Regions from separate parts of the Homo sapiens genome. Here region 2 is linked to region 1. The links are contacts of gene promoters, found by promoter capture Hi-C in human tissues and cell types (Jung and others, 2019). All regions are on one chromosome and are shown on one strand. The core of a region is centred on a gene start or on the middle of the fragment in contact, and the rest is flanking DNA. Distances in the headings are between cores, read along the strand shown. Region 1 holds the start of ADH1A (alcohol dehydrogenase 1A (class I), alpha polypeptide). Region 2 overlaps LOC100507053 (a long non-coding RNA gene).

Region 1 (7,539 bases), core at 1,319-3,818:
GCTATAAGCCCCGCAACTGAGAAAGCAAGCTGGCTCACGTTTCTTCTGCTGTCCCACAGAGGCTGGAGCAGCAGTCCACCGCCTTCAAAGGGTCTGTGGATTCTCTCTGCTTTCCTGGTATGTCCCTGCAGTAGTTCTTGGAGCAAAAGTTCACAATGTGGGTCTCCATGAACTGCTCTGTTCATCCAAGTAGCAGGTGCAAGTTAGTCCTGCCTCCTATCCTCCTCCATTTTGCCTCCTGATGACCCACTTTTCTTGATACATCTTAATAAAATACCTTTCTTTCAAGGTTTCCTCACCCTAAAAGTAGAAGTCATTTCTTTAATTTAATCAACAAATATCTGAGCACTCACTCTGTGCCAGACATTGAGTTAAGAGCTGAGAATCCATAATGAAAAGATGGAGTAGGATCTTCCTCCTTTGAATTCCACGTTGAACTCTTCTCCTGGCACGACCACTTCCTGCTTCACAGGAGGGTTCTCTGTCTTGTCTACCTGACCACAGCCAATCCCACTGCTAATCTGTAAACCCTTAAAGAGGAGACATCGGATCTTCTGGATTATGGGACTGCTCATAGAACAGTGCCTGTCCTAACATAAATGAGCATAAGAATTCAACAATCACTCATTAAACACCTACAGTATACATGGAGCTAGGTATAGTTGATGATATAAATGAAATTTAAGAACATCCCTGACTAGAAATTTCCAGTAGAAATTAGGAGACTGATCTCTACACTAAATATAGAGGGCGACAAAAGGGAACAGACCCAAAACCACAGGAGAGATGCTAGCATGACAGGGATGCAGAGACATAAAGCACAACAGTGAGATGGAGTTAATATACCTCCACGAGGGTGACCTTGTCCTGCATCTCAAATTTTGGGTAGGATTTGAATGGGCCAGAGGGACAGAAAAGAAGAGAAAGAGCATGATGAGCAAGGGCTTGAATGTTAAATAGATTCCTCTTTGGGGGACCAGGGAGATACAAGCTTCTAAAGCACATACGCCCTGTATTGGAGAATGGGGAGGAGTAGATAGATGAGAAGGTTGAAGCCATATTACGAAGCCTTGAATGCTGAACATCAGATCTGGGGCTATATTCTTACCTTGATACATTTCAGAAGCAACTGAAATCGTAGGACCTTCCTTGCTTCTCTATTGGGTGAATGTTTCTCAGTCTTGGTGTGAGTCTCAGTGCCTACGTAGTTAAAGCTTACTGAAATGTTCCCTTTACAATTCTAGAGAGATATGTCCTTTATGTTGACATGTTCATGTTGACAGACTGCATCTGATTAAACAGCTGCCTGTGCAATGCCTCCAAGTGTGGATAAAAGAAAAATTAAACTCATAATCTTGGACAGCCATGTGTAGACTAGTTACATTGATCAAAGGGCAATAGAAATGATCCAGTGAGGATTTGTCTGAATTTCCCACAATTATTTAAAATCTACCTCAAATACCTGTTCATCTATAATGCCTCCCCTGAGGCCTTCATTCTGAATAGTACCTCTGTCTCTGTCCCCAAAGCACTAACTGATCCCTGTGATAGCGCACTTCCCAGCCAGGCTGATATGTAGACTTGGCTGCCTGTGTATCTTTTCCCCATAGACTGTGAGCTTCCTTTTATGAATAATAATTGTAGCTAGCATTTAGTAGGGTGCTCCTACCTGTTAAACTCTATGATGAGTGCTTTACATAGATTATATCATTTATTCACTAAACAGTCCTTTAAAATGGTGCTATATTCACTAAACAGTCCTTTAAAATGGTGCTATATTCACTAAACAGTCATTTAAAATGGTATTATTCTTCTTCATCTTACAGGTAAACAAACTAAGGCAAAAAAAAAAGTGAAATAATAAGTGCCAGTACACAGAGCTAGTAAGGAATAGGGTCTGCCAGGTCCCAAAAAGCATGCCATCACCTTTGCCCCATACTGCCTCTGGTACAGATAGAGGTAATGTCTTATTTATCACTGCCATCCACTGGACCCAGCTTAGTGCCTGACACACAGAGGGGCTCAGTCAATGCTGATTGGTTTGAGGTGGAGCAAAAATGCTTAGCAGGGTGAGCACCTTTGCTGTGATTGAGTATCTGATTCTCTATGAAGAGAAGGGGAGTCCTGAGCCAAACACATTCCTCTGGCTCCTGGCTGTCATCTTTATTTGCCCGGCTTCTTTGCTCTTCCTCCTTCCTAACTGCACCGTTTGGATTCAAAGCTGGAGCTTAATGCAGATAAAGGGAAAACAGAACTTTGAATGACCACTGTGGGACTAAGAGAGGAGAAACAAGAAATTTGACAGATGAGGAATAAAGTGAGGAGAAGAGAAAATGATTAAGCTTTATCACTTTAACTTAATATTTAACCTAATGAAAACAAAATCTTATTTGAAATTGGAAAAATCAATGTATTGATTGCTGGTTCATTGCCCTCTTCTTTATGATTTGACAGTCTGTGAATAATCTAATGGGTGTGGCTTAAAGACCTAGATCATGTGTGGAACTGGAATCGGGTGTTATTCAAGCAAAAAAAATAAATAAATACCTATGCAATACACCTGCTTTATGCACTTGAGCAGGGAAGAAATCCACAAGGACTCACCAGTCTCCTGGTCTGCAGAGAAGACAGAATCAACATGAGCACAGCAGGAAAAGTAAGCAAAAAATATATTACTGTTGGAACTATATTCTCATCAATATAACAAAGAAAGTAATACAGTATTTGATGAATCATTTAAAATTCATATCTAAATTAGAAATGATACACTGAAATATGATATGCAATATATGCTATAATATGTAATGTATACTGAACTACAGTGGAAATAAGCTATTCCTAAATACCTTCAAAAAGAATGTATAGAATCTGTATCTATGAAGTGTTTATTTCCCACATTAAAGACATTTGCGGTAAAGCGATAATTTATTCCAAGCTAATCATGATTAATTTGTAAAGCCAAAGTTAGAAATGTCTTTCATCAAGAAGTTTTCTTTATATTAAGGTACCATAATTTAAATGTATTACTATTTGTATTTATATTTTTTGTGAATACAAGAAAGTTAAGTCTGATGAAAGTTTTATGAGAGGATTTGATTTAGAAGACTTTGAAATACCCTTTTAACCTTAACATAAAATAGTTTACAAAATGCTCATTGGTCTCACAGCATTAGAATCATCAAGGTTAATCAAGACAACATCAACATTCAAATTCTGATTTAAAAGGGTCTAGTAGGACACAATTCAGGCAATTTCCAGAGTAATCCTATGGAACAGTATCTTCCCCATATAAAAGTCAATATGGTTTTACAGAAAATTAATAATACAATTTGAATCACTTATTAGCACTAGGAACACAGATATTTGGTTTTGCCTTCCATAAATATCTTAATTGTTCAATGTGTTTATAGGTGCACAAAAATACATGTGGTAATACAATATAATCAATTGATATTTTAATTGCCTAATTACAAAAATTTGTGCAACTATTTCCAGTCCTTTTTTGTGTTAGGAGTGTATTACACAGTAAAATATCTCACTATGATAACTCAGTTTAAAGGCTCTGAGGCTTCTCTATACACTCTGTGACAAAACAGGTTCATATCAATAAGACTGGTTGGAAATCACATGGGTGGCCCATTGTTACTGTTCTTATTCCACCTCACTTTACTTTCATTCATTACTGATTAATATGTACATTCCACATAGAAAACAATTAGCAAAAAAATTAAATTTACCAAACTCAACTTAAAAGAAATAATGAGTTCCTACAGCAAAAGTATAAACCAATCATATTAATGAAAATAATAACTGATGAAATAGACAATTGCCTCCCCTCTTGGGCACAACATCAATAACTTAGTTTGTTGTCAGCATTTCATTTATGTTTATACATCCTGCATTATATTTTCCTCAAATGCTAAATAGTGACAATACTAACATCTATTTCATAAAGTAGTTGTGTTGTGATAATTCAATAAATGAATACTATAAAGAACTTAAAATTGTATTTGGGATGTAGAAATAAGTCAATAACTATTAGCCACTATTATTATTGTTGCTATTTAACTTTTTGCTAACTTTTTACTGACACCGAGTAGTGAAAACATAAGGCTAGATTCATCTTTATTCTCTGGAAAGCCAGCTTTGAGACTTTAGAGAAATTAGTTAATCACTGAGTCAATGGATCCTCAATTATTTCAGCTGTAAAATAAAGCCAATAATTCAATAGTACTGTCCTGGTAGCATCCTTATGAGATTTTAAAATAATGCATGTTGTTTATAGCAGCACAATTTGCAATTACAAAATACAGAACTGACCTAAATGCCCATCGACAAACGAGTAGATAAAGAAAATATGGTGTGCATATACCATGGAATACTACTCAGCCATTAAACAGAATAAAATAAAATAATGGCCTTTGCAGCAACTTGGATGGAGCTGGAGACCATTATTCTAAGTAATTCAGAAATGGAGAACCAAACATCATATGTTCTCATTTATAAGAGAGAGTTAGGCTATGAGGATGCAAAGGCATGAGAATGATATCATGAACTTTGGGAACTCGAGGGGGAAGGTTGAAAGGGGAGGTGAGGGATAAAAGACTACATATTGGGTGCAATGTACACTGCTTGAGTGAAGGGTGCACCAAAATCTCAGAAATCACCACTAAAGAACTTACCCAGGTAACCAGAAAACACCTGCACCCCAAAAACTATTGAAATTAAAAATAAATTTTATAAATAAATATAATGCAAATAACTCACCGAGCACAGGCCACAATGTGCCTGTCACATCATAGGCACCTGATAATCAGGAACTCCTACTATTAGTACTTTACTTCCAAGTATTCTGATATTTATTTGGCATTGATCATGTTGAACATCCTGCAAAGTTGAATAATTTGACAAATAAATAATGACAACGAATTATCAGAAGAACAAATTTCAATTGAATTTTTATCATAATTGCAATTTTGTTGATTCTCTCTGGAAAGAGTTTTGTGAATTGTACATGCTTAACCACAATGAAGACAGATATTACAGTTCACTGCCAAGCACTGGAAATTATGTGTACATCTTTTATTTTTAAGAACATCTATGGATAAGATCTGCTAGCTAGAAATTCAAACACACAGTGTCTCCAATTTTGAAATATGTATGTGTAGGTCTGAGTGTATACACACACACACATACACACACACACACACACACACCCAACTCTAACCTTTGTAATTTGGGGCTCAAATCAAAGCTGGAAGGAGTCTCTACACATAGATCAGATAACAGTACAGCCTCTCAAAGCTAAGTTGCAAATGGGTGTTGGAACAAGTAACACACAGAAGTGGTGGAGAGAGAAAATTAAAAGAGGAGAATAGGAAAAGAGAGAGAAAGAGATGTCATCCCAGGCAGGAAGGTAAATATATCCTTATAAACTCAGATCCTTTTGGCCTAAGCAGAAAATTGAGAAAGAAAACAGTGTATTTTATGTGAACAGACACTGACTCTGTCAGCAAAATGAAGGTGACTTAGAATTTGATGTACCAGCCAATAATTGTGGGTGAAGAGACATTTTCAGCATAGCATTAGGAAATGTCAGGATTAAACAACTTTGGAGAAAAACAACAACAACATAAGGATGGCCTTAATGAATATATTCCATTTTATCTCAGTGTGTTGTTATAGTTAACTGTTTATCTTTCCTTATGTTATTGCTTTTTTAAAATATATTTTTTTCTCTTTATAAATCAGAGGTGATCATTTCTATAGAGCACTTGTTAGGTACCAGACATGGGATTAGATGTTGTATGTACAAAGATGAAATGACACAATATCTGACTGCAAGCGTGGGAGAACACTGGTGCCATCTCTCTGTTTGCTTTTCTAGGTAATCAAATGCAAAGCAGCTGTGCTATGGGAGTTAAAGAAACCCTTTTCCATTGAGGAGGTGGAGGTTGCACCTCCTAAGGCCCATGAAGTTCGTATTAAGGTGAAATACATTTTTCCATTTGTATTTAAGTTTTAAAAACTCAGAAAAGTTAAAAAACGGAAACAACCAAATTTTTATATGATCATCCAGAAAATAGAATATACTTGTTGTCAAGGAAAGGTATAAATATAAATTTTTAAATTTTAAAAAAGTGCACACAGTGTAATTCCAGTAAAATACAAAAGAATTTATGTGTTTGTACAGAAAGAAAATTTCAAAGTGATATATATCAAGACTTCAAAATCAATTAGCATTAGATATTTTTATGTATTAATTTGCAACTTCTACTTCTATTTTTTAAAGGCATGCATTCTTTTATATTATTTAAGACTTAACTATTTCAGGATCAGTTACTTCACAGATTATTCTAAACTGTTTACTTCAAGAATGGAAGGTAGAGGAGGGTTTCAGCCTGGTCAACCTTGAGGATAAACTGAATCTTTCATACTTGGGATAGTAGGGATTATTAGCAAAACCCTTGAAAACATTTTGGAAGCGCAATTTCAGGGAACTGGGATTTTTAAATTCACCTGAGACTCACAATCTTTTATAAACATCTTCTCTTCACTCTGTAGATGGTGGCTGTAGGAATCTGTGGCACAGATGACCACGTGGTTAGTGGTACCATGGTGACCCCACTTCCTGTGATTTTAGGCCATGAGGCAGCCGGCATCGTGGAGAGTGTTGGAGAAGGGGTGACTACAGTCAAACCAGGTACAGGATTCACATTCAGGAAACATGATGGTTCACCATCCTAAGATTTCCCAGCCTGAATGAGGAAACAGAGGCAAAGAGGGACGAAAGGGCTTGACCAAGGTCACCGCGCAGCCAGGACTTCAGGGATTTCCTCTTTCCCTCTCTTCCTGCCTGACTCAAGCATGTATGTCTTTAGGCACGCATGTATTCTACCCTTCAACAATTATGTACTGAGCATCTGCTAGATGCCAGTCACCAGGTTGGAGCCTGGAGATATGTGAGGATCAAAAGGGACACAGTGCCTACTAGTGTGGCATTCATAATCTAGTAACTTCCGTGTTAGTGTTGGTGAACACGGTCTTCTGTCAGGGCCCAGACACCTAGAAATGGGAGGAGGGAAAAAACATAAGTATGGACATTGTTCTGTGCTGAGTTCACAAAATGGACGCTACATGGCTACGGCTGAATGAGCATGACCTTTTCTTAGGTGACCTATGCAGCCCCTTCACCAATTTCCTCTTGCAACGTGGTCTCTCTTCCTGAGCAAGGAATCAATGAAGCAGACTAGGTGAAAGGAAATGAAAGAAACATAGAAAGAGCCATCCACCATCAACAATGTCTGCCTTATTACTTTCAGCCATGCTTAAATGTAACTGGTTACGGATTACTAATTATAAAGGGAGAATAACTAGGACACTTCCATACTATCATTTTCACATAAATTTTACCTATAAAATGTTATGGGCCAACCATTTTTCTTGGTCTTGTGGAATAGACAGCATAGGTAATTTAAAATAAAAATTATGTTTAATTCTAAAAAAATCACTTTTTTTTTTTTTTTTTTTTGAGACGGA
Region 2 (7,539 bases), core at 3,310-5,809, 48 kb after region 1:
CTGAGGCTTGAGTAGGTGGTTTTTCCCTCACATTGTAAACAAAGCTGCCAGGAAGTTCGGACTGGGCAGAGCCCACTGCACCACAGCACAGCAAAGCCACTGTAGCCAGACTACCTCTATGGGCAGGGCATCTCTGAAAGAAAGGCAGCAGGCCCAGTCAGGGGCTTATAGAAAAAACTCCCATCTCTCTGGGACACAGCAGCTGGGGGGAGGGGCAACTGTGGGAGCAGCTTCAGCAGACTTAAACATTGCTGCCTACTGGCTCTGAAGAGAGCAGCAGATCTCCCAGCACAGTGCTCAAGCTCTGCTAAGGAACAGACTGACTCCTTAAATGGGTCCCTGACCCCCGTGCCTCCTAACTAGGAGACACCTCCCAGCAGGGGCCGACAGACATCTCATACAGGAGAGCTCCAGCTGGCATCTGGTGGGTGTCCTTCTGGGACAAATCTTCCAGAGGAAGGAGCAAGCAGCAATCTTTGCTGTTCTGCAGCCTCCACTGGTGATATCCAGGCAAACAGTGTCTAAAGTGGACCTCCAGCAAACTCCAGCAGACCTGCACCAGAGAGGCCTGACAGAAGGAAAACTAACAAAGAGAAAACAAAAACATCAGCATCAAAAGAAAAGTATGCCCACAGAAAAACCCCATCCAAAGTGCCTCAGCATCAAAGATCAAAGGTACATAAATCCACAAAGCTGAGGGGAAAAAAGCACAAAAATGCTGAAAATTTCAAAAACCAGAATGCCTCTTCTCCTCCAAAGGACCACAACTCCTCACCAGAAAGGGAACAAAACTGGATGGAAAATGAGTTTGATGAATTGAACAGAAGTACACTACAGAAAGTAGGTAATAACAAACGCCTCCAAGCTAAATAAGCATGTTCTGCCCCAAAGAAAGGAAGGTAAGAACCTGGATAAAAGGTTACGGGAACTGCACACTAGAATAACCAGTTTAGAGAAGAACAGAAATGACCTAATAGAGCTGAAAAACACAGCATGAGAACTTCGTGAAGCATACACAAGTATCAATAGCTGAATCAATCAAGCAGAAAAAAGGATATCAGAGATTGAAGATCAACTTAATGAAATAAAGCATGAAGACAAGATTAGAGAAAAAAAAAGAAGGAAAAGGAAATAACAAATCCTCCAAGAAATATGGGACTATGTGAAAAGACCAAACCTATGACAGATTGGTACACCTGAAAGTGAAGGGGAGCATGGAACCACGTTGAAAAACACACTTCAGGATATTATCCAGGAGAACTTCCCCAACCTAGCAAGACTGGCCAACATTCAAATTCAGGAAACACAGAGAACACCACTAAGATACTCCTCGAGAAGAGCAACCCCAAGACACATAATCATCAGACTCTCCAAGGTTGAAATGAAGGAAAAAATGTTAAGGGCAGCCAGAGAGAAAGGTCAGGTTACCCACAAAGGGAAGCCCATCAGACTAACAGCAGATCTCTCTGCAGAAGCCAGAAGAGAGTGGGGGACAATATTCAACATTCTTAAAGAAAACAATTTTCAACCCACAATTTCATATCCAGCCAAAATAAGTTTCATAAGCAAAAGAAAATAAAATCCTTTACAGACAAGAAAATGCTGAGGGGTTTTGTCACCACCAGGCCTGCCTTACGAGAACTCCTGAAGAAAGCACTAAATATAGAAAGGAAAAACTGGTACCAGCCACTGTAAAAACATACCAAAATATAAAGATGAACAAAACTGCATGAACTAATGTGGAAAATAACCAGCTAGAATCATGATGACAGGATCAAACTCACACATAATAATATTAACCTTAAATGTAAATAGGTTAAATGCTCCCAGTTCAAAGACACAGACTGGCAAATTGGATAAAGAGTGAAGACCCATTGGTGTGCTGTATTCAGGAGACCTATCTCATGTGCAAACACAGACATAGGCTCAAAACAAAGGGATGGAGGACAACTTACCAAGCAAATGGAAAGCAAACAAAAAAGGCATGGGTTGCCATCCTAGTCTCCGATAAGACAGACTTTAAAACAAGAAAGATCAAAAAAGACAAAGAAGGCCATTACATAATGGTAAACGGATCAATGCAACAAGAAGAGCTAACTATCCTAAATATATATGCACCCAATATAAGAGCACCCAGTTTCATAAAACAAGTTCTTACAAACCTACAAAGAGACTTAGACTCCCACACAATAATATTGGGAGATTTTAACACCTCACTATCAATATTACACAGATCAACAAGACAGAAAATTGACAAGGATATTCAGACTTGAACTCAGCTCTGGACCAAGCAAACCTAATAGACATCTACAGAACTCTCCACCCCAAAACAACAAAATATACGTTTTTCTCAGCTCCTCATAGCACTTATTCTAAAACTGACCACATAATTGGAAGTAAAACACTCCTCAGCAAATGTAAATGAACAGAAATCATAACAGTCTCTCAGATCACAGTGCAATCAAATTAGAGCTCAGGATTAAGAAACTCACTCAGAACTCACAACTACATGGAAACTGAACAACCTGCTCCTGAATGACTGCTGGATAAATAATGAAATTAAGGCAGAAATAAATAAGTTCTTTAAAAACAATGAGAGCAAACACACAATATACCAGAATCTCTGGGATACAGCTAAAGCAGTGTTTAGAGGAAAATTTATAGCACTAAATCCCCACAGCAGAAAGTAGGAAAGATCTAAAATGACACCCTATCATCACAATTAAAAGAACTAGAGAAGCAAGAGCAAAAAAATTCGAAACGTAGCAGAAGACAAGAAATAACTAAGATCAAAGCAGAATTGAAGGAGATAGAGACACCAAAAACCCTTCCAAAAATCAATGAATCCAGGAGTTGGTTTTTTGAAAAGATCAACAAAATAGATAGACCACCAGCCAGACTAATAAAGAAGAAAAGAGAGAAGAATCAATAGACACGATAAAAAATGATAAAGGGAAAATCACCACTGATCCCACAGAAATAGAAACTACCATCAGAGAATATATAAACACCACCACACAAATAAACTAGAAAACCTGGAAGAAATGGATACATTCCTGGATACATACACTCCCTAAACACTAAACCAGGAAGAAGTTGAATCCCTGAATAGACCAATAACAACTTCAGAAATTGAGGCAGGAATTAATACTCTACCAACCAAAAAAAAACCCAGGTCCAGATAGATTCACAGCCTAATTCTACCAGAGGTACAAAGAGAAGCTTATACCATTCCTTCTAAAACTATTCCAAACAATAGAAAAAGAGGGAGTCCTCCATAACTCATCTTATGAGGCCAGCATCATCCTGATACCAAAACCTGGCAGAAACACAACAACAAAAAAAAGAAAATATCAGGCCAATATCCCTGATGAATATCGATGTGAAAATCTTCAATAAAATACTGGCAAACCAAATCCAGCAACACATCAAAAGGCTTATCTACCACAATCAAGTCAGCTTCATCCCTGGGATGCAAGTCTGGTTCAACATACACCAATCAACAAACGTAATCCATCACATAAACAGAACCAATGACAAAAACCACATGATTATCTCAATAGATGCAGAAAAGACTTTCGATAAAATTCAACACCGCTTCATGCTAAAAACACTCAAAAAACTAGATATTAACACAATATATCTCAAAAAATAGGAGATATTTATGACAAACCCACAGCCAATATCATACTGAATGGGCAAAAGCTGGAAGCATTCCCTTTGAAATTCAGCATAGGACAAGGATGCCCTCTCTCACCACTCCTATTTAACATAGTATTGGAAGTTCTGGCCAGGGCAATCAGGCAAGAGAAAGAAATAAAATGTATTCAAATAGGAAGAAAGGAAGTCAAATTGTCTCTGTTTGCAGATGACATGATTGTATATTTAGAAAGCCCCATCATCTCAGCCCAAAACCTCCTTAAGCTGATAAGCAACTTCAGCAAAGTTTCTGGATACAAAATCATTGTGCAAAAATCACAAGCATTCCTATACATCAATATCAGACAAACAAAGAGCCAAATCATGGGTGAACTCCCATTCACAATTGCTACAAACAGAATAAAATACCTATGAATACAACTTAAAGGGGATGTGAAGAACCTCTTCAAGGAGAACTACAAATCACTGCTCAAGGAAATAGGAGAATACACAAACAAATAGAAAAACATTCTGTGCTCATGGATAGGAAGAATCAATATCATGAAAATGGTCATACTGCCCAAAGTAATATATAGATTCAATGCTATTCCCATCAAGCTCCACTGACTTTCTTCACAGAATTAGAAAAACTACCTTAAATTTTATATGGAACCACAAAAGAGTCTGTATAGCCAAGACAATCCTAAGCACAAAGAACAAAGCTGGAGGCATCATGCTACCTGACTTCGAACTATACTACAAGGCTACAGCAACCAAAACAGCATGGTACTGGTACCAAAACAGACATATAGACCAATGGAACAGAAAAGAGACCTCAGAAATAACACCACACATCTACAACCATCTGATCATCAACAAACCTGACAAAAACAAGCAATGGGGAAAGGATTCCCTATTTAATAAAGGGTGCTGAAAAAACTGGCTAGCCATATGCAGAAAACTGAAACTGGACCCCTTACTTACACCTTATACAAAAATTAACTTGAGATGAATTTAATACTTAAATGTAAAACCTAAAACCATAAAAACCTTAGAAGAAAACCTAGGCAATACCATTCAGGACATAGGCATGGGCAAAGACTTCATGACTAAAACACCAAAAACAATTGCAACAAAAGCCAACATTGACTAATGGGATCTAATTAAACTAAAGAGCTTCTTCACAGCAAAGAAACTATTATCAGAATGAACAGGCAACCTACAGAATGGGAGAAAATTTTGCAATCTATCCATCTGACAAAGGTCTAATATTCAGAATCTACAAGGAACTTAAACAAATTTACAAGAAAAAAAAACAAACAACCCCATCAAAAAGTAGGCAAAGGATATGAACAGACACTTCTCAAAAGAATACATTTATGCAGCCAAAAAACATGAAAAAAAGCTCATCATCACTGGTCATTAGAGAAATGCAAGTCAAAACCACAGCAAATTACCATCTCACACCAGTTAGAATGGCAATCATTAAAAAGTCAGCAAACAACAGATGCTGGTGAGAATGTGGAGAAATAGGAATGATTTTATGCTGTTGGTGGGAGTGTAAATTAGTTCAAACATTGCAGAAGACCGTGTGGCAATCCCTCAAGGATCTAGGACCAGAAATATCATTTCAGCCAGCAATCCCATTACTGGGTATCTATCCAAAGGATTACAAACCATTCTACTATAAAGACACATTCACACATATGTTTATTGCAGTACTATTCACAATAGCAAAGACTTGGAACCAACCCAAATGCCCATCAATGATAGACGGGATAAAGAAAATGTGGCACATATACACCATGGAATACTATGCAGCCATAAAAAAATGAGTTCACGTCCTTTGCAGGGACATGTGTGAAGCTGGAAACCATCATTCTCAGCAAACTAACACAGGAACAGAAAACCAAACACCACATGTTCTCACTCATAATTGGTAGTTGAAGAATGAGAACTACATGGACAAAGGGAGGGGAACATCACACACCAGGGCCCGTTGGGGAGTGAAGGGCAAGGGGAAGAATAGCATTAAGAGAAATACTTAATGTAGATGACAGGTTGATGGGTGCAGCAAACCACCATGGAACGTGTATACCTATGTAACAAACCTGCATGTTCTGCACATGTATGCCAGAACTTAAAGTATAATAAAAAAAGATAGAGTACTAAAAGTAGCCATTTACAATTATGATTAGAAAGCATTTCAAAGTCATGAGAAAATTCATATGAACAAGTAAACGGTAACTGTTCAATAAATGGTGACTGTTATTAGCAAAAAAATAGAGTATAAAAAAAGATCTCTTCAATACATGGTGTTAGGATAACTGTATATCCATAAGCAGAAGAATGAAGCTTGACCTCTGTCTCTCATCATATACAAAAATCAAATCAAAATGGATTAATGACTTAAATCTAAGACCTCAAACTATTAAACTACTAAAAGAAAACATTGTGGAAACTCTCTGGCACATTGGTCTGGGCAAAAATTTCCTTATTAATACCCTACAAGCACAGACAACCAAAGCAAACATGGACAAATGAGATCACATGAAGTTCAAGAGCTTCTGTATAGTAAAACAAACAGTCAACAAAGTGAAGAGACAACCCACAGAATGGGAGAAAATATTTGCAAACTACCCATCTGACAATGAATTAATAACCAAAATATATAAGGAGCTCAAACAACCCTATAGGAAAAAAACTCTAATTATCCAATTTAAAAATGGGCAAACTATTTTAATAAACATTTCTCAAAGGAAGATATACAAATGGTAAACAGGCATATGTAAAGGTTCTCAACATCATTGATCATCAAAGAAAGGCAAATCAAAGCTACAATGAGATATTATATCACCCCAGTTAAGTTGGCTTATATCCAAAAGACAGGCAATAACAAATGCTGGCAAGAATGTGAAAAAAGGGAAACTTCATACACTATTGATGGGAGTGTAAATTAGTACAACCACTACAGAGAACAATTTGGAGGTTCCTCAAAAAACCAAAAATAGAGCTACCACATAATCCAGCAATCCCACTGCTGGGTATATACACAAAAGAAAGGAAATGAGTGAATCAAAGAAATATCTGCACTCCCATGTTTGTTGCAGCACTGTTCACAATAGCAAAAATTTGGTGGCAACCTAAGTGTCCATGAACAGATGACTGAAAAAAGAAAATATGGTACTTATACACAATGGAGTACTATTCAGCCATAAAAAAAGGAATGATATCCTGTCATTTGCAGCAACATGGATGGAACTGGAGGTCCTTATGCTAACTGATATAAGCCAGGCACAGAAAGAGAAACTTTACATGTTCTCATTTATTTGTGGAATCTGAAAATCAAAACAATTGAACTTATGGAGAAAGAGAATAGAAGGATGGTTATCAGAGGCTGGCAAAGGGAGTACAGAGGTGGGAGGGAAGCTGGCAAGTGTTAATCGGTACAAAAAAAGTAGTTAGAAAGAATAAGACCTAGTATTTGATAGCCCAACAGGGTGACTATAGTCAATAATAATTTGATTGCACATTTTAAAATAAATAAAAAGGTATAAATGCATAGCTTGCAACACAAAGGATAAATGTTTTAGAAGACGGATACCCCACTTACATGATTTGATTATTATGCATTGCATGGTTATACAAAACAGCTAATGTTCTCATAAAAATATACACCTACTATGTACTCACAAAAGCTAAAATTAAAAAAATTTTTTAATAAGCAGAATATAAAATTGCTTGTATGACATCTCAACTATATAAAAATTACACTGAAAGACTGGAAGGAAATATGCTAAAATTTCAGCAGCTTGCACCTGAAATTGCATGTGATCTTTTTTAATGATTTTTTTTGCATTTTTACAAATTATAACAAGTAACAGTCATTTGTGTAATCAG

The links. The method cuts DNA at HindIII sites, captures the fragments that hold promoters and counts their contacts. A contact is called where the count stands out against the background at its distance.
Region 2: a fragment that was not itself captured here is called in contact with the fragment with the promoter of ADH1A in region 1 in 1 of the 25 tissues and cell types used here (stomach).

The regions. Positions count from the first base shown.
Region 1 is chr4:99,286,014-99,293,552 of GRCh38, reverse strand. ADH1A (alcohol dehydrogenase 1A (class I), alpha polypeptide) reads left to right here and starts at 2,568. Exons shown (of 9, transcript NM_000667.4): 1 at 2,568-2,656; 2 at 5,888-5,989; 3 at 6,565-6,703. The coding sequence starts at 2,639. It overlaps LOC100507053 (a long non-coding RNA gene), which reads right to left. Exons shown (of 10, transcript NR_037884.1): 5 at 6,520-6,758; 6 at 4,768-4,887; 7 at 2,605-2,616. RefSeq lists a promoter at 1,406-2,622 and an enhancer at 6,087-7,286. The HindIII fragment of the contact is 12,505 bases long and covers 1,779-7,539 here.
Region 2 is chr4:99,240,489-99,248,027 of GRCh38, reverse strand. The region is part of intron 4 of LOC100507053 (a long non-coding RNA gene); the gene reads right to left. Among named protein-coding and RNA genes, the nearest start is that of ADH6, 25 kb to the right of the region's middle. The HindIII fragment of the contact is 5,924 bases long and covers 1,598-7,521 here.